Regions from separate parts of the Homo sapiens genome. Here region 1 is linked to region 2. The links are contacts of gene promoters, found by promoter capture Hi-C in blood cells and fetal thymus (Javierre and others, 2016). All regions are on one chromosome and are shown on one strand. The core of a region is centred on a gene start or on the middle of the fragment in contact, and the rest is flanking DNA. Distances in the headings are between cores, read along the strand shown.

What was found. Contacts are between HindIII fragments. The CHiCAGO score rates a contact against its expected background, and 5 or more counts as called.
Region 1: a fragment that was not itself captured here is called in contact with the fragment with the promoter of SLC60A2-DT in region 2 in 1 of 17 cell types (neutrophils); the score reaches 5.5 in neutrophils.

What each region holds. Positions count from the first base shown.
Region 1 is chr6:111,524,591-111,528,840 of GRCh38, forward strand. It overlaps LOC107986522 (a long non-coding RNA gene), which reads right to left. Exons shown (of 2, transcript XR_001743809.2): 1 at 4,113-4,250; 2 at 1,335-1,646. It also overlaps TRAF3IP2-AS1. Among named protein-coding and RNA genes, the nearest start is that of REV3L, 43 kb to the left of the region's middle. The HindIII fragment of the contact is 5,796 bases long and covers 1-4,250 here.
Region 2 is chr6:111,256,990-111,261,539 of GRCh38, forward strand. SLC60A2-DT (SLC60A2 divergent transcript) reads right to left here and starts at 2,223. Exons shown (of 3, transcript XR_001743807.2): 1 at 2,135-2,223. SLC60A2 (solute carrier family 60 member 2) reads left to right here and starts at 2,350. Exons shown (of 4, transcript NM_153369.4): 1 at 2,350-2,738. The coding sequence starts at 2,712. LOC124901378 (a long non-coding RNA gene) reads left to right here. Exons shown (of 2, transcript XR_007059708.1): 2 at 1-721. RefSeq lists enhancers at 2,000-2,059, 2,380-2,459. The HindIII fragment of the contact is 14,878 bases long and covers 1-2,919 here.

The DNA.
Region 1 (4,250 bases), core at 749-3,248, 270 kb after region 2:
TACGTGGATTTTCAGACCCTTTGTCATAACTTGGTAGCCTTTCCAGAGTGTTACTGCCTCTGAACTTGGGCAAGAGGAGGAAGAAAAGCCTTCCTACTTGTTTATTTGCCTCGAACTATGCTCTATGTTCTTTTAGATGCAAATATTTTAAAAAACAATTTTCAATCTTTTGCTCTTTCATGCTGTTGCCAATAACAATCTAGGGAACTGTCAGTGAACTGCATTGTGATTTACACTAGGCATTTAAAATATTTCCAATGGATTAAAGAGTTTTTGAACATAGGGGGTTTCACATTTCAAGCCCAAATACCTAAATATAATTGCACACTATGCTCCTGTCAGTATACTTGCTGGAGCAAAGTAGTTCACAGCAACCAGCTTAGCTCTACTTAGAAAAGACTTGCTTAGGAATAATTGAAGTGGTAGAAATGTGTATGTGGTCATCCTCATTGAGACATTTAGAAACTGGTATTGCATATGGTGTCATCCTCTTTAAGCCACTCTGTTTTTAACAAAAATGAAATAAATATGTGAGTTTACAGCTCACATGAAGGAATTAAACATTTTCTGGGAGGTAATTTAATAAAAATCAGATGATTCAAGAAATGGTTACCTTCATGTTTTGTTTATTTGTTTGTTTTGTTAAAGAAACTAGTTGGAAAAATGCTTTGTTCGGATATCTTAAAATAACTCCATAGGTAGCTGTTCTGTGATTGCCGACTTGGGGTGTGGAAAAGTTACAAAATGAAATAGAGAGCTATTATTTAGCAATTAAGAACACACTTTGCTTCTTTAACTGGGATTAAGTACTTCTGGAGCAAGTTTTGTGCTAACATTAGACATTGAGGTTGGTCCAATAGCTGCACAAGTTATTCTTTAGAAACTGTAGTCTGTTAGTTCAAATCAGGACACCGCAGTGTGAATATAAATCACTTATGCCACATTCTTACGAGGTCATTAAACCATAATTGTCACAATTTCTTTAGAATTACCAAAGCAAGAATTTCCTCTGTGTAACGTTTGAGCTTTATTTTTTTTTCTTTTTGTTTTTCTTTCATGTATTGGAAGACTCTTTTAAAATGATATTTAGCCAGGCGCGGTGGCTCACGCCTGTAATCCCAGCACTGTGGGAGGCCGAGGCGGGTGGGATCACGAGGTCAGGAGATCGAGACCACAGTGAAACCCGGTCTCTACTAAAAATACAAAAAATTAGCCGAGCGCGGTGGCAGGCGCCTGTAGTCCCAGCTACTCAGGAGGCTGGGGCAAGAGAATGGCGTGAATCCGGGAGGCGGAGCTTCCAGTGAGCCGAGATCGTGCCACTGCACTCCAGCCTGGGCGACAGAGTGAGACTCTGTCTTAAAAAATAATAATAAAAAAAGATATTTAATTTTCTAATGCCCTGGCTTCTATCATCCCTCGCCTATAAAATAGATGTATGTACTAGGAAGCAGGTATTGCGTGAGTGTACTGTGAACAGCATACTAGAACCCATTGGTTTTAGGAAATTAATGAGAAAGGTAATGTGGTATAGTGGAAAGAGAATGCGTCTTGGAGTCAGGCAAACCCACCTGTGAATCCAGCTCCACCATACTCTCTGTATAACCTTAGCAAAATTGCTTTGTTTCTATGGGCCTCAGTTTCTTTATCTGGTTTAAAAAAGAAAGAAGAAAATGTTAGGTGCTAAGAAAATGTTACTCCACTGTCCCTACCCTTCTCAGAAGACATTTAGATAGATAGCTAGACAGACAGATGGAATGTTATTAACTGAATGCTTATTATGTGCCTGACATTGGGCTCCACATCTCATTTAGTCCTAACACACATACGAAGCACTGGAGCTTATACAGCCTTTGTATATGTCTTCAGGCTTGACTTGCCTGAAGTTACATAACTAGGAAGTAGTAGAGCCAAACTACTGTACAGCACAGTGCTCTTAGCTACTGTGATTTTAGCTTCACAAAATTTAAAATCTCTTAGAGATATCCTACCAGTTTAATGCTGTTAGAAAATGTAATGACAGCCAGGCACGGTGGTTCACACCTGTAATTCCAGCACTTTGGGAGGCCAAGGCGGATGGATCACAGGGTCAGGAGATCGAGACCATCCTGACTAACACGGTGAAACCCCGTCTCTACTAAAAATGCAAAAAAAAATTAGCCGGGCATGGTGGTGGGCGCCTGTAGTCCCAGCTACTTGGGAGGCTGAGGCAGGAGAATGGCGTGAACCCGGGAGGCGGAGTTGCAGTGAGCCGAGACTGCACCACTGCACTCCAGCCTGGGCGACAGAGCAAGACTACATCTCAAAAAAAAAAAAAAAAAAAAGAGAGAGAAAATGTAATGACAAACCACTAGTTTCTCATCATATTTATTTTTTTCTGTCCATATTTAATTTTGATGCATGTATTTGCTAGAGCTGCCGTAACAAAGTACCACAAACTGGGTGGCTTAAGCTGCAGAAAATTATTTTCTTATAATTCTGGAGGCAAGAAGTCCAAGCTAAAGGTGTTGACAGGTTTGCTTTTTTCCGTGGTCTCTCTTCTTGACTTGCAGATGACTGCTGCTATGGTCTGAGTATTTATGTCCCCACAAATGCATATGTTGAAATCCTAACCTTAAGGTAATGACATAAGGAAATGGGGACTTTGGGAGTGATTATGTCATGAAGTCAAAGCCCTCACGAGTGAGATTTGTTCCCTTATAAGATGGGCCCAAAGCGACCACTCACGCTTTCCACCATGTGAAGACAGGGCAAGAAGGCACCGCCTGTGAGGAAATGGGTCCTTAGCAGACACTGAATCTGCCAGCACCATGGTCTTGGACTTTCTGGCCTCCAAACTTTGAGAAATAATTGTGTGTTTTTTGTAAGATATCCAGTTTATGGTATTTTGTTATAGCAGCCTGAGCAGGCTAAGACAGCTGTCTTCTTGCTGTGCCTTCATATGGTTGTCCTTCTGTGCATGTTATCTGTGTCTTCATCTCCTCTTCTATGTAGACACCAGTCCTATTGGATTACAGCTCACCATAACAATTCCATTTTATCTTAATTACCTCTTTAAAGGCCCTGTCTCTAAATATAGTCATGTTCTGAAGTACTGCAGGTTAGGGCTTCAACTTGGGAATTTGGGGAGGACATATTCAGCCCATAACAATGCATATATAGCATAAAGCATATGAAAATAAGAGCACCTACCCTCCATTGTGTGTTTACCATGTGTGAGACACTGTTCGAAACACTCTATACATGTGTATTTAACCCATATGAGGATAGGTACTATCCTTATCCTCATTTGTTACTGGGAGGCTAGGTAGTCTGTCCAGGGTCACATTACTAGTAAGTGAAATAGGATTTGAAGCTCTACAGTCTAACTCCAGAATCTGAACTTTTATGCAGTATATATACTGCCCATCACAAAAACAAGAAATATCCAGTTTGGAGCAAAGAAACAGAAGACACAGTAATATCTATTTGAGGTAAAATTATGATTAACTTGAAAATTCTGTATATGTTTAATTAGCAGTTACTAGGTTGTCATATGTGAGAAATAAAGAAGCAGCTTCATTCTTCTTTGCCATTGAAAATCATGGCAAAAACCGCTATTACTTTTGCACCAATGTAATACTATAGCACAAGTAATAAGTCAGAGTCATTTAAAAAATAGGAAAGAAAATTCCAAGTAAATTTCTGGCATGCTACTCTATATAATAAAGGGTTAATTAATACAAAATATTCTTCTAAAATTTCAAAAGCAAATAGTACCCACAATAAAGTTTTAATATTTGAAGACCTAGTACACACATGCCTTACTTCTTGGCTTTTTGTCAAAGTTGATATCACTCCAGCTTCAGCCCGTTTTACTGATGCAGAAAAAAGAGCTGAGTTTCACATCTGGGAGATATGGGGCTCAGGGACAGCAATATGCCCCTTCCAGTCTCCGAACTAAGCATACAAAAGCAAAGAACTTGGACCTAACGGTGACTAGAAAAGAAATTGTAAACCATCCATATTCCCTCCCTGAACCCCCAAACAGTGAGGAAGGAATATAGGGCTCCCTCTACACAAAGAAACAGGATTTGAGCCAATTTAATTGAGTGTCAAAGGACAGCATTCCTTACCTTCTATCTGGTTTAAAACCAAAGTAAAGAAACAGATTTCGGGGTAGGAAACACTGCTATGGTGCTCCCTTTTTGCCAATCACTTTGTGTCAACAAAGCCTCTGCCTTCAAGATGCGTGAAACCTGGTGACTGGGGGG
Region 2 (4,550 bases), core at 973-3,472:
TTAATTTAAAAATGGCTTTACTGAACCTCAATTCAGTTAGGTAATTAATCAATTCAGTTAGGTAATAGCTACTAAGTATGTAATACAATGTTAGGGGAGAGACATATAACATCCATAGTTTCAATCTCATTGAGTTTATAATCTACTAAGGAACTGAAGATAAGTGCTAAAAGAACTGTAACACGAGGTAAAACCTGTGACAAGATTTAGGAGCAGCACAACTATATAGTTGTGAAACTAAACCAGCCTCAAGGCTGAAAGGCAGGTGAGAAAAGACTACCTACCAAAGTAGGTTTTGTTTGTTTGTTTGTTTGTTTGTTTGTTTTAACATGGATTCTCCAAAGATAGGTAGAAAAGTCCTGGTTTGGCGTCATTAGTCTACTTCAGCCCCTCTCTCACTGATTACGACTGAAAGACTCATGACAAAATACAAATGGCAACTACCTGCCGCCTCTGAAAAGTAAATAAAGAATTGAGGTAGGGAGTCAAAACTTAGAAACCTGCAAGGGGATGAATTTCCTGGCTTTTTTCTTCTTTTCTTGTGGTTTGTCCTGAGGAGAGACCCCAGCTGGGAACTGTTGGGTGGCATGGGTAGCTAAAACTCGAATAGAAATCTCATCTTTCTGTGCTGAAAGGAAATAACGGTTAGCCCAGAACTCTATTTTCAGTGAAAATATTTTCAGGAATCAAAGTGAAATAAAGACATTCTCATATGAAGGAATGCCAGCTGACCTGCTCTAAAATAAATGCTTGGCGGGCCGGGCGCGGTGGCCCACGCCTGTAATCCCAGCACTTTGGGAGGCCGAGGCGGTCGGATCATGAGGTCAGGAGTTCGAGACCAGCCTGACCAACATGGTGAAACCCCGTCTCTACTAAATAAAAAAATTAGCCGTGCGTGGTGGCACGCGCCTGTAATCCCGGCTACTCAGGAGGCTGACGCAGGAGAATCGCTTGAACCTAGGAGGCAGAGGTTGCAGTGAGCCGAGATCGCACCATTGCACTCCAGCCTGGGCGACAGAGCGAGATTCCGTCTCAAATAAATAAATAAATAAATAAATAAATAAATAAATAAATAAATAAAAAAGAAATGCTTGGCGGGGCATGGTGGCTCATACCTGTAATCTCAGCACTTTGGAAGGCCAAAGGCAGGCGAATCACTTGAGGTCAGGAGTTCGAGACCAGCCTGGCCGACATGGTGAAAACTCGTCTCTACCAAAAAGCGCCACAACACTCCAGCCCGGGCGACATAGGCTCTGTCTCAAAAAAGAAAACAAACAAACAAAAAAAAAAGTGGGGGTGCGGGTGGGGGGAAGACTTAATGACTAAACGAATAAGTCTGGAGAGACGGGTTGCAAGGGATGATGAGACTAAGGTTTGTAGTCTGGGAGCCTAAGTGGATGAAAGTTGGAAGAATCAGGTGGAAAAGAACATTTCAAATAGACCACAAAGAAAAGTATATAACATTTTGAGGCTGTGGTACGCTTTGTTAAAGAGCAAAAGGAAAACAATTCCTCAAATCAGGGGGGAGGGATAGCATTAGGAGATATACCTAATGTTAAATGACGAGTTAATGGGTGCAGCACACCAACATGGCACATGTATACATATGTAACTAACCTGCACGTTGTGCACATGTACCCTAAAACTTAAAGTATATAAAAAAAATTCCTCAAATCGATGCCACGCTCCACTTCTTTACAACGATGGAATTATTTCAGGAATTGGAATTATTTCAGGAATTGTGTTTGAAACCACAGCTTTGGATCCCGATTTCTTTCTTGAGCTACTGTTACACTGTTTATATACGGCCACTAATTCGATGACTGAGCTTGGGCAGATTGTTAATTATTTTCTATGACTTAATCTTTCTATCTGTACAACGGGGATAACGTGGAATTTGGAGTGTTGTGAGGGTTGAGATAATATACGTGATAACTTACACAATGACGTTCAACAAATACTTGTGGAGTGAAAGATGCGCGATTCATTGACAGATCTCAGGGATTTCAGAAAGCTGTATAAGGACCAGCTCTTCAGGCTCCCTTCGCTCCCCAGGAGACCGGGGAGCCGGCGCGAGGCGCTACAGTGTAATTCTTGGCCCCTTTTCCTCATAATGGTTTGGCCGCATTTTTACCTCTTGATTTCCCTGGTCCCAGGCTGCAACTTCAGCTCGCTCCGCCATGGGGCGCACGTCCGCCAGCCTCTGTGAGCTCAGCTAAGTATGATGCCTAGGCTAGAGAGCTACGTCCGGTCTCCTAGGCAACCATATCAACTTCCGGCTTGAGGCACGATAGCGGTTGGCGAGAGGCCACATTTCCGCCACGTGACCCGCGCATGCGCCTGCTTGCTGGAGAGCGAGCGTCTTTTGCCACGAACACCTGCGGCGTGCCGAAGTTCCTCTTCTCTGCCCCGGTTCCGGGCGGTCCGCTGGGAGGTGGCGCCCGGAGGGACACCCGTGCCTGGGGTCGGGGCCAGTGCTCTTCTCGGAGCTCCAGAAGTTCTGCTGAGAAGCGCGGCGGCAGCAAGACGACTTCTCCGGAGCCGCCGAGCTGGAGTTAGAGGTGGAGCTCCGTGGGGCCGGGCCCCCGGCTGCGGGGCAGCGGCTCCTGCAGGCGGAGGCCCCGGCGGAGAATGAGCCGGAGCCGGAGGTGGTGGTGGTCTCCTGGCAGAGCGGTGGGACCGGGAGCAAGCTGCGGTGGTTCACCACCTTGATGCTGTGTGCCTCCTTCCTGGGGCTGGTGAGAGCCGGGGCTGCAACACTCCCAGGCCGGGGCGTTCGAGTCTTGCCTTCGCCACTTGCAAACTGACCTTGGGCGCGTTACCTAATCTGACTGGGCCTCAGTTTCATCATCTAGAAAATGGGCACAATTCTAATCTTGGAGGAAATAGATTTTCTGAATACGTCTTTCAGCTCCAGCAAGCTTTTTTTTTTTTTTTTTTTGACGGAGTCTCGCTCTGTTGCCCAGGCTGGAGTGCAGTGGTGCGATCTCGGCTCACTGCAACCTCTGCCCCCAGGGTTCAAGCGATTCTCCTGCGTCAGCCTCCCGAGTAGCTGGGATTACAGGCGCCTGCCACTAAGCCCGGCTAATTTTTGTATTTTTAGTAGAGACGGGGCTTCGCCATGTTGGCCAGGCTGGTTTCAAACTCCTGACCTCAGGTGATCCGCCCACCTCGGCCTCCCAAAGTATTGGGATTACCGGCGTGAGCCACGGCGCCCGGCCCGGCAAGCCTTCCTACGTCTCCTTCGTCGGATGGGAAGGTTGCAAGAGGGGTTCACCAGGTCTTTGGCCGCTGCTCTCCGCACCCACCCACTCAACCCCCAAATTATTACACAGAAAAACTACTTTTCTGGAATTTCTTCCTGGTGATCTGACCAAATTCAGCCAACCGCTTAATTTTGCAGATAAGGAAATAGGCCCGGAGGGGAAAGTGACTTTCTGGATCACACAGCTGGTTAAGTGATAGAGCCAGAAATATGTCTTTTACTCTGCCCACCATCCTATTTATTAATAAAACCAACCTTTAGATTCTTAAATGTTTTTCTTGGAGCAAAGGGCAAGCCTAGAGGCGCCTTTTGCCAAACCCCTGGGTCGCCACTCAATTCACTTTTCGGAAACCTCCTCCTTATCACTTGATAATTATGATCCTGGGGGAGTTGAGAGGATGAGTCCTCCCAAGAGTCATGTGTGGTCACTTACCATCTCAGGGACTCTGAGCCACAGTTGTTTCTTAGAGTATTTTGATTGGGGGCGGTGGGGAGGGGTGAAGAAAGAAATCACTTCAGACTTTTGGTGAGTCGTCACTGACTTGTCCGGTCCTGTTGTAAATCCTTTGAAGACATGAACTAATTTGATTAGATTCTGTGCTCAGGCTTCTCTCGAAGTACGAGGTGCTTGCTGTGCACCTGGGCCCATAGTGGTCCGTGGTCTTGGACTGTTACGAGTTGGGCAGGGGGCGCACCCCATGCATTTAGAGCAGAGCAGGGCAATTAGAATCAGTTATTCTGGAAATGTAGACTGATTGGAAACATTTTTTTCTTTAAATGTCCAATGAATTTCCTCTGAAAGTCAATTGTAATCCTTACCTCTTGCTGACACTGCATTGAGTAAAGTTTTATTGTTAAAGTCATTCTGTACTTGGGCGTGTAATATTTTTTAAGCAACCTTTACTGACTAATTCTGATGGCGTGGAAGAAAAGTGTAGATTTAGAAACATTTAAATTGTTTATCTCCTGTATGTTTTATATGTATAGTTCAGGGGAAGGACTCCATGTGCATCCAGAAATATTGCTGTTTAACAACATAAAAAACAGGAATCATATTTTGATGTTTTGATCAAGGTTTTGACGTTTTCCAGTGGCTCAGTCAGAACTCACTACAGTCTCGACCTCAGGGCTTAAGCGATCCTTCCATCTCAGCCTCCCTAGTAACTGGGACTACAGGCATGCGCCACCACGCCTGGCTGATTTTTTTCATTTTTATTTTTGTAGAGATGGGGTTGCCTAGGTTGATCTCAAAACCCTGAGCTCAAGCAGTCCTACCATCTCTCCC